Regions from separate parts of the Homo sapiens genome. Here regions 2, 3, 4, 5, 6 and 7 are each linked to region 1. The links are contacts of gene promoters, found by promoter capture Hi-C in blood cells and fetal thymus (Javierre and others, 2016). All regions are on one chromosome and are shown on one strand. Each heading gives the region's core, a stretch centred on a gene start or on the middle of the fragment in contact. The rest is flanking DNA. Distances are from core to core; before and after follow the strand shown. Region 1 holds the start of ATIC (5-aminoimidazole-4-carboxamide ribonucleotide formyltransferase/IMP cyclohydrolase). Region 2 overlaps IKZF2 (IKAROS family zinc finger 2). Region 3 overlaps IKZF2 (IKAROS family zinc finger 2). Region 4 overlaps IKZF2 (IKAROS family zinc finger 2). Region 5 overlaps IKZF2 (IKAROS family zinc finger 2). Region 6 overlaps LINC01953 (long intergenic non-protein coding RNA 1953). Region 7 holds the start of LOC107985981 (a long non-coding RNA gene).

Region 1 (3,096 bases), core at 291-2,790:
CAATGCTATTACTTTGGAATATAATTCTAATAACACAAAAAAGACTCATAGACCACAATATGTATTTATTTTGTGGCAAAGGTGTCATTTTTAGAAAGAAACAAATGTGTTCAATTTTGCTTTCCCTGTTTTTAATGAATTAAGAAAGGTCTTCTCTTACCTTCTTTTGACTGTCATCATTCCTCTCATCCAGGAATATTTACAGGTTTGCAAGAAGACACCATCTTTAAGTAGTTTTTAGGCACTTTTACAATACTGACTAAATTGTATAAAATAGTATTATAAATTAATATTTAAATTATAATTTTATGACGTGAAAATCAACAACGAATGTCAATTTCACTTCGTTTTGACTGTCATCTGTGGCCTCTGGAGTCCCTCACTTAAATCATTGGTCCTTGGTTTTATTTTTTAAGCCTATTAAAAAGGAGGATGGGGCCGGGCACGGTGGCTCACACCTGTAATCCCAGCACTTTGGGAGGCTGAGGTGGACAGATCATTTGAGGTCAGGAGTTGAAGACCGGCCTGGCCAACACCGTGAAACCCCATCTCTACTAAATATACAAAAAAAAAAAAAAAAAAGTACAACAACAACAAAAAATTAGACGGGTGTGGAGGCAGAGGCAGGAGAATTTCTTGAACCTGGGAGGCAGAGGTTGCAGTGAGCTGAGATGGTGCCACTGCTCTCCAGTCTGGGAGACAGAGCGAGACCCTGTCTCAAAACAAACAAGCAAACAAGCAAGCAAGCAAACAAACAAAAAACAAGTTGGGCATGGTGGCTCACCCCTGTAATCCCAGCACTTTGGGAAGCCGAGGCAGGCGGATCACCTGAGGTCAGGAGTTTGAGACCAGCTTGGCCAACATGGCGAAACCCCATGTCTACTAAAAATACAAAAATTAGCCGGGCATCGTGGCGCCTGCCTATAATTCCAGCTACTCGGGAGGCTGAGGCAGGATAAACTCTTGAACCCGGGATGTGGAGGTTGCAGGTTGCACGTGACATAGCCGAGATCGCGCCATTGCACTCCAGCCTGGGCAACAAAAGCGAAACTCCATCTCAAAAAAAAAAAAAAAAAACAAAAAAAACAAAAAAACCCAGAAAAACAAAAAAACAACAAACAAAAAGGGAGGATGGTAGATAACTGTCCAGATACTTTCCAGCTTTGCCGCTATATGAACTATTCCTTTTGTTTAGTTTTCAGCATGGGAGCTTCTGGCACTTTTACGTACTTTCCAGCTTCTGGGGACCGGCTGCCTAGAATAACAGGCATTTGCCCCAGAGGCCGTGGAGTGGCCTCACTTTGGGGTCGTGGGCAGATCGCTGGCTCCCACGCCTGGACTTCGGGATCGCAGGCAGGATCCCTTCCAGCCCAAGCACTCCGCCCAGGCGCGCCAGGCAGAGCCCCACCCCATCCCGCCGTTCCCTTCAGCCCCGGGGCGCGGATCTTGCATCTGAAACTGAGCAGAGCAGGGCGCCGGGCAGGGCCGGCGGGCCACGTGATAAGCCCGGAAACAGCTCCGCCCCCTCGCTTCCTGAGCCGCCACATCCCGGCAGCCCTCCTACCTGCGCACGTGGTGCCGCCGCTGCTGCCTCCCGCTCGCCCTGAACCCAGTGCCTGCAGCCATGGCTCCCGGCCAGCTCGGTGAGGCCCTAGCGGAGCGGCGCGGTCTGCGTCCTCGCCTGCGGCCCCCCACGCTCCCGCCTTGGCGGCGGCCGGCGGGACCCGGCACTGCAGGGGCGGCGCTGCGGGATTGAAAGCCAGCGTCCCCGCTCCCCGGCCGGGCCGCAGCCTGCGTGGGGCCCGCCTTAGAGCAGCTCGCGGGTGTAAGACCTGGGGAGGCCCGGACCAGGCCTGCGAACGCAGGGTCCAGGTGCTGGCCTTGCGATTCGAGAATCTCCTCCCCCAGACCCTCCCAAGGCCTTGCAGAACACAGTGCAATGTGCTGCGAATCATGAGAAAAAATGTCTTCTCTTTCAGCCTTATTTAGTGTCTCTGACAAAACCGGCCTTGTGGAATTTGCAAGAAACCTGACCGCTCTTGGTTTGAATCTGGTCGCTTCCGGAGGGACTGCAAAAGCTCTCAGGGATGCTGGTCTGGCAGTCAGGTAAGGCATAGCTAGTTCCATCAGAAAGGAGTGTGATCACATTAACCAGGAAGTATTGTATTCCAGGCACCAGCAGCAAAACGCCTTATTTACTCCTCCCAGTAGCGCTGTGAGGTTGGTGTAATACTTCCCCACTTTATGGGGAAAAAAAGTGAGGCTCAGAGAGATTTAGCAACTTTTAAGACCCTGGACGGCTGGGCTAGGTGGCTCACGCATGTAATCCCAGCACTTTGGGAGGCCGAGGTGGGCTGATCACTTACGGTCAAGAGTTCGAGACCAGCCTGGCCAACATGGTGAAACCCGTCTCTACTAAAAATACAAAAATTAGCCGGTATGGTGGCACACGCCTGTAATCCCAGCTACTGGGAAGGCTGAGGCAGGAGAATCGCTTGAACCTAGGAGGCGGAGGTTGTGGTGAGCCGAGATGGCACTACTGCACTCCATCCTGGGTGACAGAGAAAGACCCTGGACAACACACTGGACAGATTTAGCATCTTCTGCACAAGTTTAAACAGTTGAGTAAGGGAAAAGTAGGATTGGAACCCGTGCTGTTCCTGATTTTAGGACACTAGTCTTAGCCCCTTCCTTAAACAGATTAACTTAGGTGGGCCACTTGTTATGCAAGGAAAACTTCAGTTACTTTGACTGGTGATTTAATAAAACTCGACATCATGAAGATTCCAATTTACCTGCCTTCCCTTAGAATCTCTGGTAACCATATGAAGGTGCAAATCATTCATTCCCACGTTCACAAGCCCTTCATTAGCTGACTAGGCCATGGAAAGAAGGGACTTAGAAATGATTAACCAGGATGCCATTGCTGATGTCAAGGAGTGGCATTCTGGGAGGAGAGGGAGGAAGTCTACTGAAAGGTAGAAAAATGAAAAAAACTATAGGATAGCTATTTAATAAACGGCAGTGAGAGTTGGGAGGAACGAGATGACCACCCCTGAAACATATTTTAGAATGAAAGAGATGAAGGATATCTGT
Region 2 (3,096 bases), core at 195-2,694, 2.3 Mb before region 1:
GATATACCAATAAGGTAACTTCCCCTGTTTGAACAAACTTTATAACCAAACATCCTCTTTGACCTTATATTTGAGGTTATAACCAAGATAAAAACATAATTCCATTAGATCACTGTTTCATCACGTTGATAACCATAACGGCAAAACCATAAGTGTATTCCCAATGTATTCTTTTGAAAAACCAAACAGTTCACCCAAATTCAAATTCCAAGTCTGAGGGACCTAGGTTAGATCACATGTCTAGCTCCTGAGCAGGAGAGGGCAGAGTACCTGGACTGAGGGTCCCACCACAGCTACATGCAACAGGAAAGTTCTCTAAAGGTAAATGGGCACTCTTGTTATCAAGAGAAGGAGGAAGGGATGTCAGGCAGGCAAAAACAACAGATGTCTTCTATATTGTTGCAAATTTTCTCCGTGTTACCCGATCTAAAAAAAAAACTTTACAGTTATCTTAGTTATTTTCTTGACAGCATTTGGCAGTGCTGACACTTGCTTTGGCTTCTGTGAAATCACTCTTTCCATGTTCCTACTCTGCTCTTACTCATCTTCATGAAATTTTTTTCCTGCTAGTGTGTTCTTGGCCTTCTTGATGTCTCACTCTGTACTTATCCGTATTGCCTTATTAAAAACTACTACGTTGGGCCACTACATAAATTATGATGGATCCTGCATCTTTGTTTCCTACTCAGACCCCTCTCAAGAGCTTGAGATCTATATATTTAACATCTTCCTAGACAGTTTTATTTGCCTATTTCATGGAGACATAAAAGAATATAGTAAAAGAAGTAAAATCTCCATTTACCTTTCTTTCTTCTATTTTCCTAATTACCATATCACTGAATGACACTACTAATTACCATATCACTGAATGACACTACTATTTACTCCATCAGCCATGCTGGTCACCTGTGGAAAATCCTAGATTTCTTCCTTTCATCCAGTCTTCTGCCTCTCCTCCTCCCTACCACATCTCTTTACAAACACACATGGAGGTACCCCAAGTGTTTTAGATGCTACATTGGTAGTTGTTCACATATGTTGTTCTTTCTGCAGGAAACACCCTTCTCCATTTATTAGTTCACATTTTTGCTTTTTAAAACTAAGCTCAATCCCGGGAAATTCCTCTTGGATGTTCTGCTGATTTAGGTATGTCCTCTCTGTCTCCATAATGCTTATCACATAGTACTATAATTGTTGTTTTACTGGTCTATCTTCCAATAGCTGGTAAATAACCTCAGGGGTTGCATTCTGTTGTATTTGTGTCTCTAATACCTTTTATGATACAAGAGAGATATAATATTCAATGGATGTTCACTGAATGATGTCACCCAATAGAAATAAGTCAAAAAAGCTTATTCCAAAGTTTGGGGGTGCCCAATAATGCCTCTATACTGTGAAAAAGAACCTCCCTTTCCTAAACAATTCAAAGCATAAACCTAACAATATATATAGATTTTAAGCTGGCTATCCTTCTGCTTTGCACTTTCATTTTTGTCTTTAGGTTTAGGTAAAACAGGTAATAACATAGTTTGATTTTAAAGCTTTTCCTTCAAGCTAAGCAGACTTGAAAAAGCAACATAAAGATAATATTGAACAAGATAATCTGCCATAAAACCTAATTAAATAAGATAAATAATCTGCCCTAAAACCCAATAAAATAAATAAGCTCATCAAACCCAATTAAATAATTTAATTATATAAATAATCTGTCATAAAACTCAATTATTATTTCCAAAACTATGAGTCATGATATTCCTCCTTTTTCCTCAAACTCAATCAACTTTTCTAAGACCATTTTATTCTACCTCCTAAATATGTCTTCAATATTTCACCTTGTTCTCTTCTGCAGTTGCCTCTTCATCTTTTTCTTTTTGGCATTGTCATTTCCAGTCTCTCCTCACACCATACCCCCTGCCCCAGGTAGGCATTTATCATGTATCCTCATTGGAGACATTTTTCTTGATTTGATTACCTCATTAATAACAAATTTGGTTACCCTAGTGGCCCCCCATCAGTTACACAATGAAATTCAAACACTAGCTTAGCAGAGAAGACTCTGTCTTTGCATCACAACCTACTAATTCAGAAGCTTCATTTCCTACCACTCCTTAAACTGCAGTTACACTCAACATCAGGGAAGCTGTTAATTATCTTTTATATCTCCAAGCCTCTTTTTCTCCTTGAATATACATTCTCTGTATCCTGCCTGATATATGCAATTTTTACTCATCCCTCATGTTTGGATTGAACACTCCTGCATGTAAGAAGCCTCTCTTGACTTTTCCAGAGTTAGGTTAATTCTACATCTATGTTCCCAGAGAACTGTGTATGCATCCTTATTAGAGCTTTTGTTTCATTTTATTTTATTTTTTTAAAGTATGTATTTCCTACCAGACTATAAAGTAAGTGTATTAAAAGACTGGGTCCATTTATTTTTATACCCCAGAATGTTCTATATAACTTGGCACATAGTAAGCTCTTGATAAATGTTTTCTGAGTAAAGTGAAAATGCCTCTTTTCCTTTAAAAAATTCCATACTAGAAGAACAACACAGGGAAAAACATGTTTTAGAAAAGAAAGACTAGGAAATATAACTATGTCAGATATTTTTTAAAAACAAGTAATAGTTAAATCATTTCATGGAGCTAATGGCAACCAAAATGACAGCAACTCTCATATCTACCACAAAAAAGGAAAACAAATAAATAACATACAGCAAGAGAAGGGAATAGATATAAGTTTCATCATGGTTCTGTTTAAAAAGAGACATATGCCAAGCTATTTATATGAGACGTATGTTAATGATGAACTCTAGCAGCATTTTACAGAACCATGTTTTTCTCTTACAGTATTTATCAACTCCTACCTCGTATGGCCAATTTCCCATTAGGCATGTTAACAACAGATAGAGGAGATTAAGGATAATCTCAAATTATTGTTATAACAAACCCAGAAAAAGTATGGTATGAAATGGCATGAATGTAAACTTATGTGGTTAAAATGATATCCAGTATTTAAGAATATTTGTTTCTATAAATGGTATCAGAAGCTACCCTCAATCCCTTCTCCTCTTTGGTTTTACCCTCTGCTCTACCT
Region 3 (3,096 bases), core at 320-2,819, 2.3 Mb before region 1:
AGAAGATTCGATCTCAAGAAACCACTTTCTTTGCCCATTGTAAGAAGCAACTCTTCATCCATTCACATTTTATAACGAGACTGCAGTAATTCAGTCACATCTTCAGGCTCCACTTCTAACTCTAGTTATGTTGCTGTTTCTATCACATCTGCAGTTCCTTTATCCACTGAAGTCCTGAACCTCCTGAAAGTCATCCATGAGGTTGAAATCAACTTTTTCCCAACTCCTGTTAATATCTTGACCTTCTCAGATGAATCACAAATGTTCTCAATGACATCTAGAATTCTGAATCCTTTCCAGAAGGTTTTCAGTTTACTTTGCCCACATCCATCATAGAAATCACTGTCTATGGCACCTCTAGCCTTATAAAATGTATGTCTTAAGTAATAAGACTTGAAAGTTTAAATTAACCCTTGAGCGTGGGCTGAAGAATATATGCTGTATTAACAGCCATGAAAACAACATTAATCTGCTTGTACATCTCCATCAGAAGTTTTGGGTGACAAGGTACATTGTCAATGAACTGTAATATTTTGAAAGGAATTTTTGTTTCTGAGCAGTGTCTAAACAATAGGCTTATTCACTAAACCATATTGTAAACAAATGTGCTGTCACCCAGACTTTGCTGTTCCATTTATAGAGCACAGGCAGAGTAGATATAGCATAATTCTTAAGGACCTTAGAATTTTTGGAATGGTCAATGAGCATTGGCTACAACTTTAAGTCACCAGCTGCATTGTCCTACCAAGAGAGTCAGCCTGTCCTTTGAAGCTTTTAACCCAGGCACTGACTTCTCCTCTCTAGATGGCCTCTTCTTCTAATAGAAGGCTGTTTTGTCTACACTGAAACTCTGCCATTTATCACAACCACCTTCATTAATTAGCTTAGCTAGTTCTTCTGGATGAATTACTGTAGCCTCTACATCAGCACTTGCTGCCTCACCTTGCACTTTTATGTTATAGAGATGGCTTCTTTCCTTAAACCTCATGAACCAACCTCTGCTAGCTTCCAACTTTTCTTCTGCAGTTTCCTCACATCTCGTGGCCTTCAGAAAATTGAATATTGTTAGGGTCTTCCTCAGGATTAGGCTTTGATTTAAGAGAATGTTGTGGCTGGTTTGATCTTCTATCCAGACCACTGAAACTTTCTCCATAATCAGAAGTAAGGCAGTTTTGCTTTCTTATCACTTGTGTGTTCACTGGAGTAGCATTTTAAATTTTCTTCAATAACATTTCCTTTGCATTCACAATGTGGCTGTTTGGCACAGGAGGCCTATCTTTTGGCATGTTTTGCCTGTTGACATACCTTCCTCACTAAGCCTCATCATTTCTAGCTTTTGATTTAAAGTGAGAAATGTGAGTCTTCCTTTAACTTGAACACTTAGAGGCCATTGTACAGTTATTAAGTGGCCTAATTTCAGTATTTTTGCATTTCAGGAATATAGAGGCCAGGTGAGGGACAGAGGGACAGAGAAACTGGCCAGTTGGTGAAGCAGTCAGAGCTTACACAACATTTATCAACACAAAAATTCAAGTTTGCCAGCCTGTATAGGTGTGGTTCGTGGTATCCTAAAACAGTTATAATAATAACAAGAAAGATCACAGATCACAAAACAGACATAATAATGAGCAAATGTGAAATATTGCAAGAATTATTTAAATGTGACAGAGAGACATGAGGTGAGCATGTGTCATTGGAAAAATGGTATCAACCGACTTGCTTGGAATTAGGGTTACCACAAACTTTCAATTTGTAAAAAACGCAGTTATCTGTGAAGTGCAATAAAGTAAGGCACAATAAAGGAAGTTATGCTTGTATTTCCTTTCATCTGACTTTCTATATTACAAGAACTCAGGCTTATGAGTAAGCAAATAATTTGGATAGCAAACAGCTCCCAAAATAATCAATTCAGAAGCAAATAGCTTGCTCTAACTTATGGAATATTCATATAAAGAATATGTATTTGTATATCCAGAATGTGGTTTCTTACTTGGATCTCAAATTCTAACCCTAATGCCAGTTGTGTGTGAAGCCTAGGTTACGTTAAATTAGGAAATAGTTGTACCTAACTCACAGCATTTCTGTGAGTATATATTTTTTTTAATCCATATGGAAAACTCAAGGTACTTAACACACAATAAATGATCAATAAGTGGAAAATCTTTTTTTTTCCCTGTAGCAGTCAACATCTTCTAACATATTATATGATTTTTTAACTGATTCTTGCCCGTCTCCCCTTATTAAAATGTAAGCTCCACAAAGACAGTCTTGCAGTCCACAATCTCACAGAGCTTACATTCGAGTGAGGTGGGATGGCACAGACAACATGTGTATAAACTAAACACCAACATAACCACAGATTCTGATTCAAGCTTTTTATTAAGATAGAGATAGCAAAATAGAACTAAGGGGATGCTTCTGGTAGGTTGCTTATGGATGCCACTATTTTCAAAGAGATGACATTTAAACTAACATCTGAAAGATAATAAGGCAACTATGCCAAGATCTTGGGAAAACGCTGAAGGTGTTGACTTCTAGGATCATCCATTAGTTCAAAAACAGTAGGAAAGAATAAAGAAACCTCGGGTTGCAAAGAACCCAGAGTGAGGCGTAAAGTAGTAGAAGATCAGACAGTAGAAGTGGGCAGAACCACCAATGGCCATGATTAGTAGTTTGATTTTATTATAAAAGCAATGGAAAACCATTAAAATATTTTAAGAAGAGGAGTGACATGGTTTAAATCAGATTTTAAAGTAACATTCTGGTTGCTATCTGGAGAATAGATTGGGAAGCAGGAGTATAGTGGCTGAGAGCAGAGACCCTAGATTCAGACAGACCAGAGCTTATATCTCAGCTTTCATGAGTATATTGGAAGTTGGATAAAATGTAAACATATAGTTATCAAGGTATGATTTTTTTTGCTATATCAGATCATAATTTTTAAAGTACTCTCACAAATATAATTTATACTATTGTTAGATTTATTTTGTTCTAAGCTGCTATATGTCTTCAAGCCTCATGATAGATTTTTGTTTATAAGAGCATGATACAATTCTTGTTTTATTGTGCTGTGGGTGTGTATGTGTGTGTTTGAAA
Region 4 (3,096 bases), core at 390-2,889, 2.2 Mb before region 1:
TTGAAAAACATCACAAATAAAAGTTAATACGAGGAGCTAATATAGTTAATCTGGTACTAGAAACTGAGATACAATAAACCAATCACTGAACTAGAAGTAAGATTCCTAGGTTCTACTGCTGGTTAGTGATGGAGTTCAGTGAGTAAGAGTGGAGGTAAATGTTAGTGTCTCAGTTTCCCAATAAGTAACCAGAAATAAACTAACTCCATATTTACCACAGAAGAAGTATACAAAAATTAAACAGAAAACACTGCCAGGAAAATATTAAACAAATGATAGTAATCCATTATTGACATGATCTATGTTTCATAAATATAAAAAGGTTTTAGAGTATGACAGTTATTCAAATGTTTAATAGCATGTTACACCTTTGAAAGAGGTAACACTACAAGAAAAACAACAGAAAAATCAATGTACACTTCACCTTTCCAAAATGTAAAGCATATATTAAACAAATTAAATGAAAATCAGGGAAGTGAAAGCCATGTTAACTTCCAACGAATCAGAAGTCCATAAAAACTTATGAATAACATAATTTTTGTTTTCTTTGAGATGGAGTCTTGCTCTGTCGCCAGGTCTGGAGTGCAGTGGCACGATCTTGGCTCACTGCAACCTCCACATCTCTAAATAACCTAAATTTTAAAAATTCAGAATGATGTGAAGAATTATCTCTAAAGTAACATCCAGAAGTAGAAAAAGATAAATTTCCATTTCACAATCCCTGGGATCCAGAAACTTGTACCTATTTGACCCAGCTCCTATAATCATATTTCCCTGGTCCCTTGAATGTATTTTACTATCCTCTCAAACTGAGAAAGTGACAATATTCATTATTTTGTTGCAAATATCCAGAGCACTGATTTAAATATCATACAAATGAAAAAGATTGAAAAGAAAAAACTTTGAAGAGACACATCCATCTCTAACTAAAAACATGAACAGAGTAGCAGTATTTTGCCCTTTACTTTTTAACCCCATATAAAACTAAGTCAAGGAAAATATATTATTCTGACATGTTTATAACTATTACATAAAATCAACTATCACCTAACTACAGGAATGTGCTCTGAGAAATGTGTCCTTAGCTGTGAACACTATCAAGTGTACATCACAAATCTAGATAGGATAGCCTACTTCATACCTAGGCCGTATGGTATATATTGCCTGTTGTTCCTAAGCTACAAACCTGCACAGCATGTTACTGTACTGAATACGTAGGCAATTGTAACCCAATGGTATCTACATATACACAGAAAATGTATCTTAAAAATACCCTATTTATAATATTATGGCATCACCGCTGTATATGTTGTATATGTGGTCTATCATTGAAAAGTTATCAGGCATGCACATGACTGTACATATTTATGTCAAATATTAAAATCCAGATGGAACATTAGTTAGAATAACAAAAGCCTAACAAAACTCTTAAATCCAATCAATGGATTTTGCTTACATACATATTTTTTAGAAGACTGACATTGCATTACCACATAGAAGCTGTGATTCAAATTTCACTAAGAATCTAGATTCTGTTCTGTACTTTGGTCTTTGCCAAGTTTTGCTACAGTAATAGAATGCCAAATTTTCTGCAATTATTTCATTTAGGAAAAAACCTTCTCTTAAACATTCTATAAAAATTTGATTCATCAAACCTTATTAATATGATGATGAATTTATTACAATTGTATTTAAATGGTTATTAAACGTAAGCCTAAATTATTCAGGCTAGACAGACAAGCATGGATCCTGAAAAGGCGGTTTGTTTTCTTAAAACTAACTTCCAGTTATTTCAGATTTCAACTATGTGTGTACTTTTCTAGAAGACAATTCTAAAGTGGCTTTCAAACTGTTCCTTGGCTATACACTATACAGATACTGAGACAGTCTCAATAAAAGAGAAATGCTGAAGTCTATACTACCTTATTTCATTCAGTTAAAGTTTTGTTCTGTTCTGCTGGCTTAATATGGCCTTATCGTTATTTCAACACATGTCCCATTCCCATTTATTAACATTAAATATGAAATAGTAAATCTCACTGGGAAAAGTTTTCTAAAAGCTAATCGCTGCTTTAGAGAAACAATCTATTGGCACATGCTGTATGTGTTTATGTTCATTAGCAAACTGGCCATTGCAATACTTCAAATTAGGGTATCAGCTGAAATATTAGGTTGATGCCAAAGTAACTGTGGTTTTTGCCATAATATTTAAAATGAACCAAGAAATAAATACAAATTCCAAGTACTTTCAAGTTATACTCAGTAGAAAAAATATATATCTTATCCTATATTTGAGTTCCCCCAATGTGGATGTTGTCATAATGTCATTAGTAGAAGTTTATTTTTTAAAGTGACAGTTTGCTCCAAATGTCACCTAAATAAATATTATTTATCAACTCTCATTTGAGAATCTGAATACAAGTATTAATTTTCTGAGGTCACACAGAAGTTTTCTTTTAACAAAACTAGAATCCTCAAAGGAAACATTTGATTAATTTTTCATTAATTGATATATACTGACACAATAACCATTAAGTAGTTTATGTTAAACACACCCAGTGTATTTTAACCATCCTCGTTTGGGTGAGAAATGAAGATAAAATATTTTCATGTGACCTCTATCTTGATATTATACAAGCACTGACATTCAAACTAAAGAATATGGAAAGAAGATTTTTGATTTTTCTCTGCCTGGGAATAATATTATCAAAGAACTCATAAAATAATCATAAGCAAATACTAAGAATACACCACCACCACACTCTACCAAATTTAGGTTAATGGCACATAGCAAAGAGCAGAGCAGATAAGGCATCACAGAAATTCATATACAAATTTAAAACACACAGACACACTAATGACTATGTTTTTAAATCACTGATTGTAAAAAAACAAATAATGTTTTCCCAACGCTTTCCTACACATCATGTAAACTAAACAGGATTTTTTTTAAACAGGCAGGGAAAAAAGTGAACGGAAGTAAACTTCATGAAACCCCATTACAAAACTAATGCTTTTCCTAGGGATAAAGTCATATGCACCATCACCTAGTTTTCCACTAGAAAAAAAAATAGAAAACTCTTTTTATAGAAATTC
Region 5 (3,096 bases), core at 239-2,738, 2.2 Mb before region 1:
GAATTCTAACCCAGGCCAGCATAATTGCAAAGCCCATATTTTTAACCACTCACAGTCTACTGCTTCTGAGCCTCAGTTTTAAGTGTTATAAAATAGAGTAATTACATGCCTACCTCACAGAATTGATGTGGAGACAAAGTGAAATAATAAGTAAAGCATCTAGCATACTAAGTGCACTCAATAAAGGATGCCCCTCTACCTTCTCTCGCTCTAGTGGTGATTATAACATTTATAATAAAGGAAACCATCCCTAAATATTCCTTACCTATATCAAAACAGAGGTATATTGGGTCTCAATTAATTCGCAAAAGGAAAATACCAACAGGCCAACAAATACATTTAACATAAACAGATAAGAAGGGAAAAAAGTAAAGAAAAACAACATATTCTACCTCATTTTAGGACTGGAACTCTGCTATTGATATTTCCAAATATGATAAAAATATGTAAATATTCAAAATATATCAACATGTCAAAAGTTAGGAGAGAAGAGCACGGAACCCAGAGATGAAAATTCATTATGGCTTACAGGAAGACTCTCAATAGAACACAATCAATGGTGTTACCTTTTTTTAAAAAAGTACTTCTAGTGGGAAAGACAGATTTTGAACAAAGATAGAGATGATAAGGATAATCTTTCTGCCATACGTTGTTTTGTTTTTTGAAAACGGACTTTAATTCTCAGTACTAAGCAGACTAAAAAGATAGGGAGTTGGGAGCGGAATGAGGTGCAAAGAAAAAGTTACAGCACTTTTGCTGTTGATTACCAACAAATCTATACCTCTTTTACTTTCCTTTTTTTTCCCTTTTTTTCTCTTTTGGTACATAGTTATGACATTTATCTCTGATACCTGTAAAGAAATTAAATCAGAACTATTTTTATTTAATTCCCTAATAAACAAGAACTAAATGTAAAGTACATTGGGTATATACACAAACCTAAGTATGGCGACTTAAAACAGAAGATTTTCTATCAAGCCCATCTGGTGTTATATTAGGGTGTGTCCTACAGAAATCCAAGCAAGGGTGACTGCCAAACTAAGCTACAGAAGAAAACTCAGAAAGCTGGTAAGTCCCATAATATAGGCTCTATTTCAAAAAGTGCATTAGAACACCCGCCTGAAAAGATAATCTGATATCACTCCACCCTCATAATAACTCTTCTATTTCTGAGATATTTGTCACAAAAATATGGGCCAGTATTGGACACGGCAGACACCCTGAGAAGGTGACATTGTAGAGATAGCAGTTATCTAACTAACCCACAAGGTAATATCACAATTTTATGTCCCAATCCTGATAACTTCATCTTTCTGCTAAGTTCTCTAAGAGGTAAATTGATTTCTTCAAGCCTCAATTTCCACATATGAAAAATAGAAATCATAATATACTTCTGCTTCGCTAGGTTCTAAAAATGGAAACTAGCTAAGAAAAAAATTAATGTGAAGTACTCTGAAAAGAATAAACTAGATTCCCTGACCTGATTATTGGTCAGAGCCTTGTAAAACTAGACTTACTACTTCTTCCGATTCCATACATGCCACCTGGCCATCAGACTGATAAATAGCATTGACTGTACAGTTGATCCACTTAACAGCTTTAAAGTAATAGAAACAAATTTTGCATCATGATGTATTTTCATACCCATTTAAGTAACTACCTGCAAAGTAAATTTATACATAAACATTATAAAAAAATAGATAAGAAAAATAAAATTAATTTAAAAATTTTGAACTTTAAACAATTTTCAAAATAGTCACCTGCCAGTATAGAACAGTCTGAAACCAATACTGAACAACTATGCAAGAATTGGAAATGAGCTAACCAAGAAACAGAAGGAATCACAAAGTAAGTTTCATCTGATGGGCCGAAATACAATATGGATTATTTTTATATTGTTCTGTCTGAGATGTCTGTCTCAGATTCTTAAGTCCCAGATTCTATTTTTAAAAATCACTTAACACTGTGTATTTCCAATAGCCATCAAGGCATATACTGTCATCCCTGACACCGAAGATTGTCAGCAGACTCAATATGTACACTAATGATCTCAGGCAACAATGTCCATCTTCTTAACAAAGACATCCTCATTCCAGAAGAAAAAGTTTAAAGTTCTCTAAGAAAATTCATTCAAAACCATAGGAAGTAGTCATTATAAAATGTTAGGATCACTAATACCTCTTACTTCTTCTTAAGTTTATCTTAGATGCTAAATTTTAAAACCAAAAACTGTCAGGCATTATAACATTTTTAGTTCTCTCCCTCCCAAGTCACCAGTGCTCTATTCTAGCACTGTCAAATAATGATAGCTGCCGTCATTATTTTTATACAATAGCTGGCAGCAAGTTGCACAGAAACCCTTCATCTTAGAAGAGTTACCAAATAGCTTAAACAAATGCTGGGACCTTACAGTAGTACTGACCACCTTCCTAAAGCCAAAATAAGTGAGCTCTCATGCCTTATTGATACTTTTCTGGCCAGAATGTTAGCTGTTTTACTAAAAAAAAAAAAAAAATTTACTTATTTTATTTTTTTAACTGTTTAAAAATAACTTTTTTCCTCCTTACACATATATTCCCATCCTCTCCTTCCTGCTACTAGAAACTGTCTTAAAGGTTTTCACATTTACTTTTAGCTTTAACACTTTCAATCAAAATTGCAATTCTGTTTTTGGAAGCAGGCACCCTCCAGGAAGTATATTTGAAGATATTAAAAAATGCAGAAAATAAATAAGTTCTTTTCATTAAACAAAGTCAACAATGCATGTAAAGGGATTTAGGAAAACCGGTGATCTCAGACACAAGTGATTTGACAGGCCAGATGCACACAAAAAATTATTCCAAGTCACAGAAAAACATCAGAGTGACCAATTCTAGGTCTCTTGTTCTAATTAATAGACGAGAGTTCCTCTCTATCACTATTTGCTTTGGCAATCTAAAATGCTGATATTCTCCTAGATCTAACAGAGAGGAAAAATGGGTATCTTCTCCATCTAACACCTAAGTGGGTAACCTAGATACTGTAAATAGAGGCTACATAAAGGATGCAAGAGACAGCTCTGAAGTGAGAGCCAAAATATTTAACCTGCAACTCTTT
Region 6 (3,096 bases), core at 179-2,678, 2.2 Mb before region 1:
GAAGGTATAGAAGATTGTGAACAGAAATTTCTGATGGAGAACAAGGTGCCAGAATCCGGAATGGAGGTTGAGAAGTCATGGCCTCTAGGGGGTGGAATATCAGAAACATGAAAGGATAATCGGGAGATGTAGCTCTTGGGGAAGAGAGGGAAATACTGAACTAGGTGCAAAAGTCTATGAAGAATGAATCCCTGGAAAACTGATAAATAAAAGCGAGGAGGAAGAATTGTGAGGTGGTAGCTGGAAAGCATGAACATCAGAGGAACCGGGATTTTACATGAAAGTGTATATGTTCTGAAAATGTCTTTGGACTACATAGGGGATGCTGACTCCTTAGTCTAAACTTGAGCAAGGTGAATCAGTAGAAAATGAAAAGCCTTCACTTGAGAGGACTATGGGTAAGTTGACCATATGAGCTGGTTTGCCAAGAACTGTCTCAGTTTACACCTGTGGTCCTGGCATCATTATTAATAGTACCCCCTTTTATTCTTAAGTGTCTTGGTTTCTATGTGACATTACATATTCATCCTAGATGAGAAGGAGTAATGACCTCAAAGAAGACCTTTTTCATTTAGGCAATGTTGTTTTTATGTTTGTTGTTTTTGTTTTTGAGACAGAGTCTCACTTTGCCACCCAGGGTGGAGTGCAGTGGCGCAATCTTGGCTCACTGCAACCTCCGCCTTCAGGGTTCAAGCGATTCTCCTGTCTTAGCCTCCTGAGTAACTGGGATTACAGGCATGTAATCCCAGTTAATTTTTGTAATTTTTGTGGTGACAGGGTTTCACCATGTTGGCCAGGCTGGTCTTGAACTCCTGACCTCAAGTGATCCACCTTCCTCGGCCTCCCAAAGTGCTGGGATTACAGACATGAGCCACCGCACCCAGCCTAGGCAATGGTTTTTTTTTAAAGAGGTAGGAGGCTATAGATGGATTTACCTGTTTGTTTTTGGTTTTTTTTTTCTTAAAAGAGGAGTTCCAGGGGCCATAATGAAAAAGCTTTGAGAGCATATTGAGCAGTGAGATATTGATTCAGGAGAAAGGAGGTTCTAAGCAGTGTTGTAATTGAAAGTGCAGAAGAAAGGGGTTAACCTCAGCTTTAGCTCCCATCTTCCATTTCAATCTTTGTGTCAACTTTCTCATTCTTTCCATCTGGAGTCAAGTGGACAATCAAGCCTTCATAGGTGAAATATGCCTACTATTATTTATATCTTTGCATTGTTGCAAGTGATTGCAGCAGTTATTGTACTGCAAACTGACAGATACAGGTAAGAAAACTTTATAAACGTTTACCAGAGTCCAAGTTCCTCCAGATCACTGCCGTACAATGACTCCTAATTGAGATGATAACCTCCTACTATTTGCTTTCTTTTGCACTTATGTTTTGAGTGTTCTTTATTCTGAGCTTTGGCAGATTCAGCTCTGTCTCTGCCAACTCCATTACTTGCTTCAAAATCAGGGTAAAAAAACAAGGCAGCTTAAGGCCTCTGGATCATATGAAGACTGGTTTATTCATCGAAGTCACTAGATTTTGCCAAGCATTGTACACTGAGAGCTGATGACGAAAGGATTAGAGTACTCAAGTCAGATGCCAATGCCAAAAAGGAAGCAGAAATTAACCACCCTTGCTAAAAGCAAAATATTCTTATGTCTCTAGTCACAACCATAGGCTAAAATGCACCTTCAAAGAGCAGTATAACATGTAACCAAATTGTAATTGAAGATTCCTTTTTTAAAACGAAATGATCCCAACTCACTAAACACAGAAATCTTCATTACAACATCATCACAGGAGACCTTTAAGTCAATGAGGTCATTTGTATTTTAGTCTGCAAATAATATATTACTGTAATGCAATGAAGGCATAAAGCTTATTGATGTACTTTATGGAAATGTAGGTAAAGCCATTTCTCTGAGTTAGGGATATTCTTCAATGACCGTGGCAAATAAATTAAAACGGGGGATTTTTATTCACTTTCTAAAAAATATTCTTTCCAGTTTCCAAATAGACTGTCCATAGGAATTCTTAAAGTAGTAAGCTAGCAGCATGAATTCAAAATGTGAATCATTTGTTTAAAAATCTGCACACATTTTTTTAGAATTACCTCATAATAAGCCTCACTGCTTAAAACCATGGTTCAAACTTGTTTTCTGTACCTAAATGATCCACATGCTAAAGATATTCCTATTTAATTCCATCTTTCATTGACAGAAAAAATTCTAAGCTGGAGTCACCCCCCACTAGCTTCCCACTATGTTCTGCAGGAATATCAGAGTATTGGAAATGTTATAGCAGTTTGAAAACTATCCCCCTAGAACAGTATTTTTCAAATGCCTGGTTGTAACCCATTAGCAGGCTGTGTGTATTTAGTCAGTCATAACCAGCATCTAAAAACAAAATAGAATCGAATACAGTACGTTTATCACACACAACAAAGATAAATAAAAGGTAACTTTTTGTATCAGAGGTATATCTATCTATCTATCAATTGGCTCACCATGTAAAAGCTATTTTTACTCCCTATGGATTACAGGGTCAAAAGAAGACTGAAAGCTACTGGCCAAGAGAATGGATAAACAAATTGAAGTGTATCATTTCATTGAAATATTGCACAGCAACTAAATACTACAACAAATACATATATATACACACATACATATATATGTACTACATAAATCAATACATATATAAATACATAAATACCACCACAAAAATCCCTAAAATATTATACAGGGTAAGATAAGTGAATTGTTAAAGGATTCTCATATAAATTGTTAATACTTAAAAACATAGAAAACAATATGTATTGTTTTTGTACATATGTATATGTAGTAAAAGTATTATAAAAGAAAGACACCACTTTTGGAATAGCAGTAACCTCCAGGGTGAAAGAGAGGAGGATGAGATGCATCTGCAACGTTTGATTTCTTAATAAACACAATTCTAGAAGACAGGAGACCTTTATTCTAATTCTGACTCTGCCATTACCTGACTGTTTTACTCTGATTGGGTGACTTCATTGCTCTTGTCCTTGTTTCTTCCTATGTGAAATGAAGGGATAATACCAGAGAATGATCAAAGAGTCAGGCTGGAAGGAGA
Region 7 (3,096 bases), core at 388-2,887, 2.1 Mb before region 1:
AGTTAAGTGCAGCCTATGTACAGAAACAATAAATTTTTGCTGGTTGTTTATTCTTAAAATATTTAGGCCTAGTTTCAATGGCTATAGTGGATAGCTGAAAAATTTTCCTCATGTTGTTGGAATGTAGGATGAATCAAAAGGAAGTTAACAATTCCAGAAAGATGGCAGCATGAGGGCACATATTCCACCCCCGAACAAAAATGTACTTCTTTGATTGGAAGTAAATCAATGACAGGTACAGTGCAGTGGGATGCAGGGTGCACAGGGGAGTAATACTGATGTCGGGAATGATACCAAACACAGACCACAAATCTTAAAGAAGTTCTTCCAAATATGGCAGCATTTAGAACCCATATACCATTTTTTTTTTCCAGGGTAGCACAGACTTATAGGAAAGTGAGGAAATTCTGGGAAATCCTAATATTAGAGAGACAAAGGTTGGCGCTGCAGGCAGGCTCTGAGGAATGACGGGGCCTTGAGCCTCTTTCCCACCAGAGTTCAACAACATTCCTAGGCCATGCTGGCATCTCTGGAATGTAAAGTGAGCACTCTGCCCCTCCTCACTTTGCTTCTCTGATCTGACATTTTCGTAGTTACCAAGTTCCCTCAGATGAAGGAAGGGAGAACCCTAATCTGAAGAGGGGAGGTCTGAAGTGGACAGGAACAGTATCAAGGAGACCACAGGAGGCAAAACATTAAAAGTTGAAGAAACAGCATAAATAACAGAAGACTGAAACTAAGGTGAGCGGGGAAAGCTTGCACTCTGCAAGCAGTTAGCCCAGGTTCCAGTCCTAGTGCACTGTTTACTTACTTGGTATGTGCTACCGAGCAAGTTTCTTGACCTGTTTGTGCCTCAGTTTTCTCATCTATAAAATGGGGATAATAACATGCATGTAAGAATTAAAAGATAATATGTTATTTATATAACAAGGGATTATGGCAATACCTGGCACATACCAAGAGTTCTGTAAATGCTGATTGCTTTTATTAAATTAAGTCATTTAATACATTTACTTTGTTATTAAATTAAATATCGCTATTACTAAATCTACATAAAAGTGAGATTAAACAACTTATTTAATAGACAAAAACTCCAATGACATCAAAAGTCGTCCATATGATATGTAAAAGAGAGCTGAAATAATGCAACTCAAAAGGTAATAGCAAAGGACATTATGCTAGAAACGCTAATCACTATTGCCTAGTCACATTCTCTCCTTGTAATAGTATCCAAAGACAGGAATAAAGGCCACATTCTTTTTCCTCTGACTCTACCCCACCTCTGGCTACAGCTGATTGGATCAAGGACAGACACCTGACCAAGGACAGTCACGCTGTGCTTTATGTCCCGGCAGAAAAAGGCTCTGGTGAGGATCAAATTTTTTTTTAATTTGGGTAATTAAATAAATGAGCTGAACGGAAGTGTGAATCAGTAACTCTTTGTAGCCTTAAATGAAGTACAGCGGGAAAAGGAACACAGGAACTCAAGCTTGCCCTGGGCTGCCTGGTGGGAAACAGACCCGGATCTGCAAAGGTGTTAGGTATCTGTGCAGAGGAAGCCGTCTCTGCCCCTGATTTCGGCCCTCAGAGCCCTCAATGACAGCAGTAGAGTCTTCTACTAAGCTATGTTTCTAAGGATAAGGTTGGGATCCTGACAGTGAATAAGGTTATCCTGCAGGATGGGGAGCTGAGAATTCTTGGCACTCGAGCCTCTCTGAGGCAGTTACCAATGCAAGCTCCCTCCCACACGTGAGGAGACATCCCTTTTTAAGTCCATCCTGTGACCAAAGCTTGGAATGCAGCGCTGGCTTTTGGAAATAAGCAAAGGCAGATTAAGGAAGAAAGATCCTTTACTGTGAGTTCTGACTGATATTTCCCTTCAGGGCCTTGAGGCTTAAGCCTTTCTTTCTAGAAGAATGGGGAGGGGAGGAGCTAGTCCCATTTGTTGCTAAGCGACTAAAGCTTTCTCGGGTCACGTTTGCAGCTATTGAGAATCAGTGACAAGGTGGATGTAGCGATGCGGGGAGAAGCCTCTCATTTCAAGATTTCTGGTTCTGTATTTTAAACCATGGAGTTCGCAAGAACAAAATTGATTGGAAGCCTATCAAAGTTCGAGAATGGTGTTTTTAGAAATAAGCCAAGCCTTAGAAGGAGGGATGAGTTTCAGGCTTAAACCAACACAGCAGGGCATCTTATCTTCCTCTGCAAAGTCCAGGCCCGATACAAAGGATGCTAAGAATAAATTTAACAAAAAATATACACAACCTGTATGAAGGAAAAAACACAAACCAACCAACGAAATGAAGGGCCTAAACTAATAGAATGAATGGAGAGTCATGACATGTCTTTTTGGAAAGACAGATACTGTAAAGATGTAAATTTTCTGCAAACTATTTGTAAGTATAACACAGAGATCCATTTTGTATTTGACATGACAACATAACTCTCATTTATTTGGAAGACTAAATGTAGGAATATCCAGAAACATTCTGAGAAAAAAAGAGAAACAAGTAGGAATTTGCCTGTGGTGTAGTAAACCTTTTTTTTTTTTTTTTTTTTTTTTTTGAGGCAGAGTCTCGCTCTGTCGCCCAGGCTAGAGTGCAGTGGCGCGATCTTGGCTCACTGCAAGCTCCGCCTCCCGGGTTCACGCCATTCTCCTGCCTCAGCCTCCCGAGTAGCTGGGACTACAGGCGCCCACCACCACGCCCGGCTAATTTTTTGTATTTTTAGTAGAGACGGGGTTTCACCGCGTTAGCCAAGATGTTCTCCATCTCCTGACCTCGTGATCCGCCCGCCTCGGCCTCCCAAAGTGCTGGGATTACAGGCGTGAGCCACCGCGCCTGGCCTTAAGCCATATTTTTAAGGTGTGACAATTGAAACTGTGATAGTGTTTGAGTAACAGCATCGGAGTAAACAGGCAGATCAATGGAAGAGATTAAAAAGTAAAGAAGCAAACATAGCTGTAAGTCCCTGGGAATTTAGAGGTGATATTTCAAATCAATGTACTGAATGGGTTTTCCAAAAAAATGTTTTGGAACAAATGGCTAGTGTTTGCAAAAATATAAGAGAACCCTGCCTCCCACTTAATTATATTTT

Evidence for each region. Contacts are between HindIII fragments. The CHiCAGO score rates a contact against its expected background, and 5 or more counts as called.
Region 2: a contact is called between a fragment that was not itself captured here and the fragment with the promoter of ATIC in region 1, in 2 of 17 cell types (total B cells and naive B cells). The highest score is 6.7, in total B cells.
Region 3: a contact is called between a fragment that was not itself captured here and the fragment with the promoter of ATIC in region 1, in 1 of 17 cell types (total B cells). The highest score is 6.0, in total B cells.
Region 4: a contact is called between a fragment that was not itself captured here and the fragment with the promoter of ATIC in region 1, in 1 of 17 cell types (fetal thymus). The highest score is 6.0, in fetal thymus.
Region 5: a fragment that was not itself captured here is called in contact with the fragment with the promoter of ATIC in region 1 in 2 of 17 cell types (total B cells and fetal thymus); the score reaches 10.1 in total B cells.
Region 6: a contact is called between a fragment that was not itself captured here and the fragment with the promoter of ATIC in region 1, in 2 of 17 cell types (fetal thymus and total B cells). The highest score is 10.3, in fetal thymus.
Region 7: a contact is called between a fragment that was not itself captured here and the fragment with the promoter of ATIC in region 1, in 1 of 17 cell types (fetal thymus). The highest score is 7.6, in fetal thymus.

The regions. Positions count from the first base shown.
Region 1 is chr2:215,310,519-215,313,614 of GRCh38, forward strand. It overlaps ATIC (5-aminoimidazole-4-carboxamide ribonucleotide formyltransferase/IMP cyclohydrolase), which reads left to right and starts at 1,541. Exons shown (of 16, transcript NM_004044.7): 1 at 1,541-1,643; 2 at 1,980-2,106. The coding sequence starts at 1,625. It overlaps LOC124907975 (a long non-coding RNA gene), which reads right to left and starts at 1,454. Exons shown (of 2, transcript XR_007088075.1): 1 at 161-1,454. RefSeq lists an enhancer at 1,245-1,895 and silencers at 1,426-1,505, 1,516-1,885. The HindIII fragment of the contact is 8,450 bases long and covers 1-3,096 here.
Region 2 is chr2:213,016,619-213,019,714 of GRCh38, forward strand. The region is part of intron 7 of IKZF2 (IKAROS family zinc finger 2); the gene reads right to left. Among named protein-coding and RNA genes, the nearest start is that of MIR4776-2, 92 kb to the left of the region's middle. The HindIII fragment of the contact is 190 bases long and covers 1,350-1,539 here.
Region 3 is chr2:213,033,092-213,036,187 of GRCh38, forward strand. All of the region lies in intron 6 of IKZF2 (IKAROS family zinc finger 2), which reads right to left. Among named protein-coding and RNA genes, the nearest start is that of MIR4776-2, 110 kb to the left of the region's middle. The HindIII fragment of the contact is 1,601 bases long and covers 770-2,370 here.
Region 4 is chr2:213,073,179-213,076,274 of GRCh38, forward strand. All of the region lies in intron 4 of IKZF2 (IKAROS family zinc finger 2), which reads right to left. Among named protein-coding and RNA genes, the nearest start is that of IKZF2, 77 kb to the right of the region's middle. The HindIII fragment of the contact is 3,798 bases long and covers 1-3,096 here.
Region 5 is chr2:213,142,674-213,145,769 of GRCh38, forward strand. All of the region lies in intron 4 of IKZF2 (IKAROS family zinc finger 2), which reads right to left. Among named protein-coding and RNA genes, the nearest start is that of IKZF2, 7.4 kb to the right of the region's middle. The HindIII fragment of the contact is 4,908 bases long and covers 1-3,096 here.
Region 6 is chr2:213,160,581-213,163,676 of GRCh38, forward strand. All of the region lies in intron 1 of LINC01953 (long intergenic non-protein coding RNA 1953), which reads right to left. Among named protein-coding and RNA genes, the nearest start is that of LINC01953, 5.6 kb to the right of the region's middle. The HindIII fragment of the contact is 871 bases long and covers 994-1,864 here.
Region 7 is chr2:213,187,850-213,190,945 of GRCh38, forward strand. LOC107985981 (a long non-coding RNA gene) reads left to right here and starts at 590. Exons shown (of 5, transcript XR_007088069.1): 1 at 590-741; 2 at 1,293-1,367. RefSeq lists enhancers at 1-603, 604-1,464, 2,327-3,096. The HindIII fragment of the contact is 301 bases long and covers 1,488-1,788 here.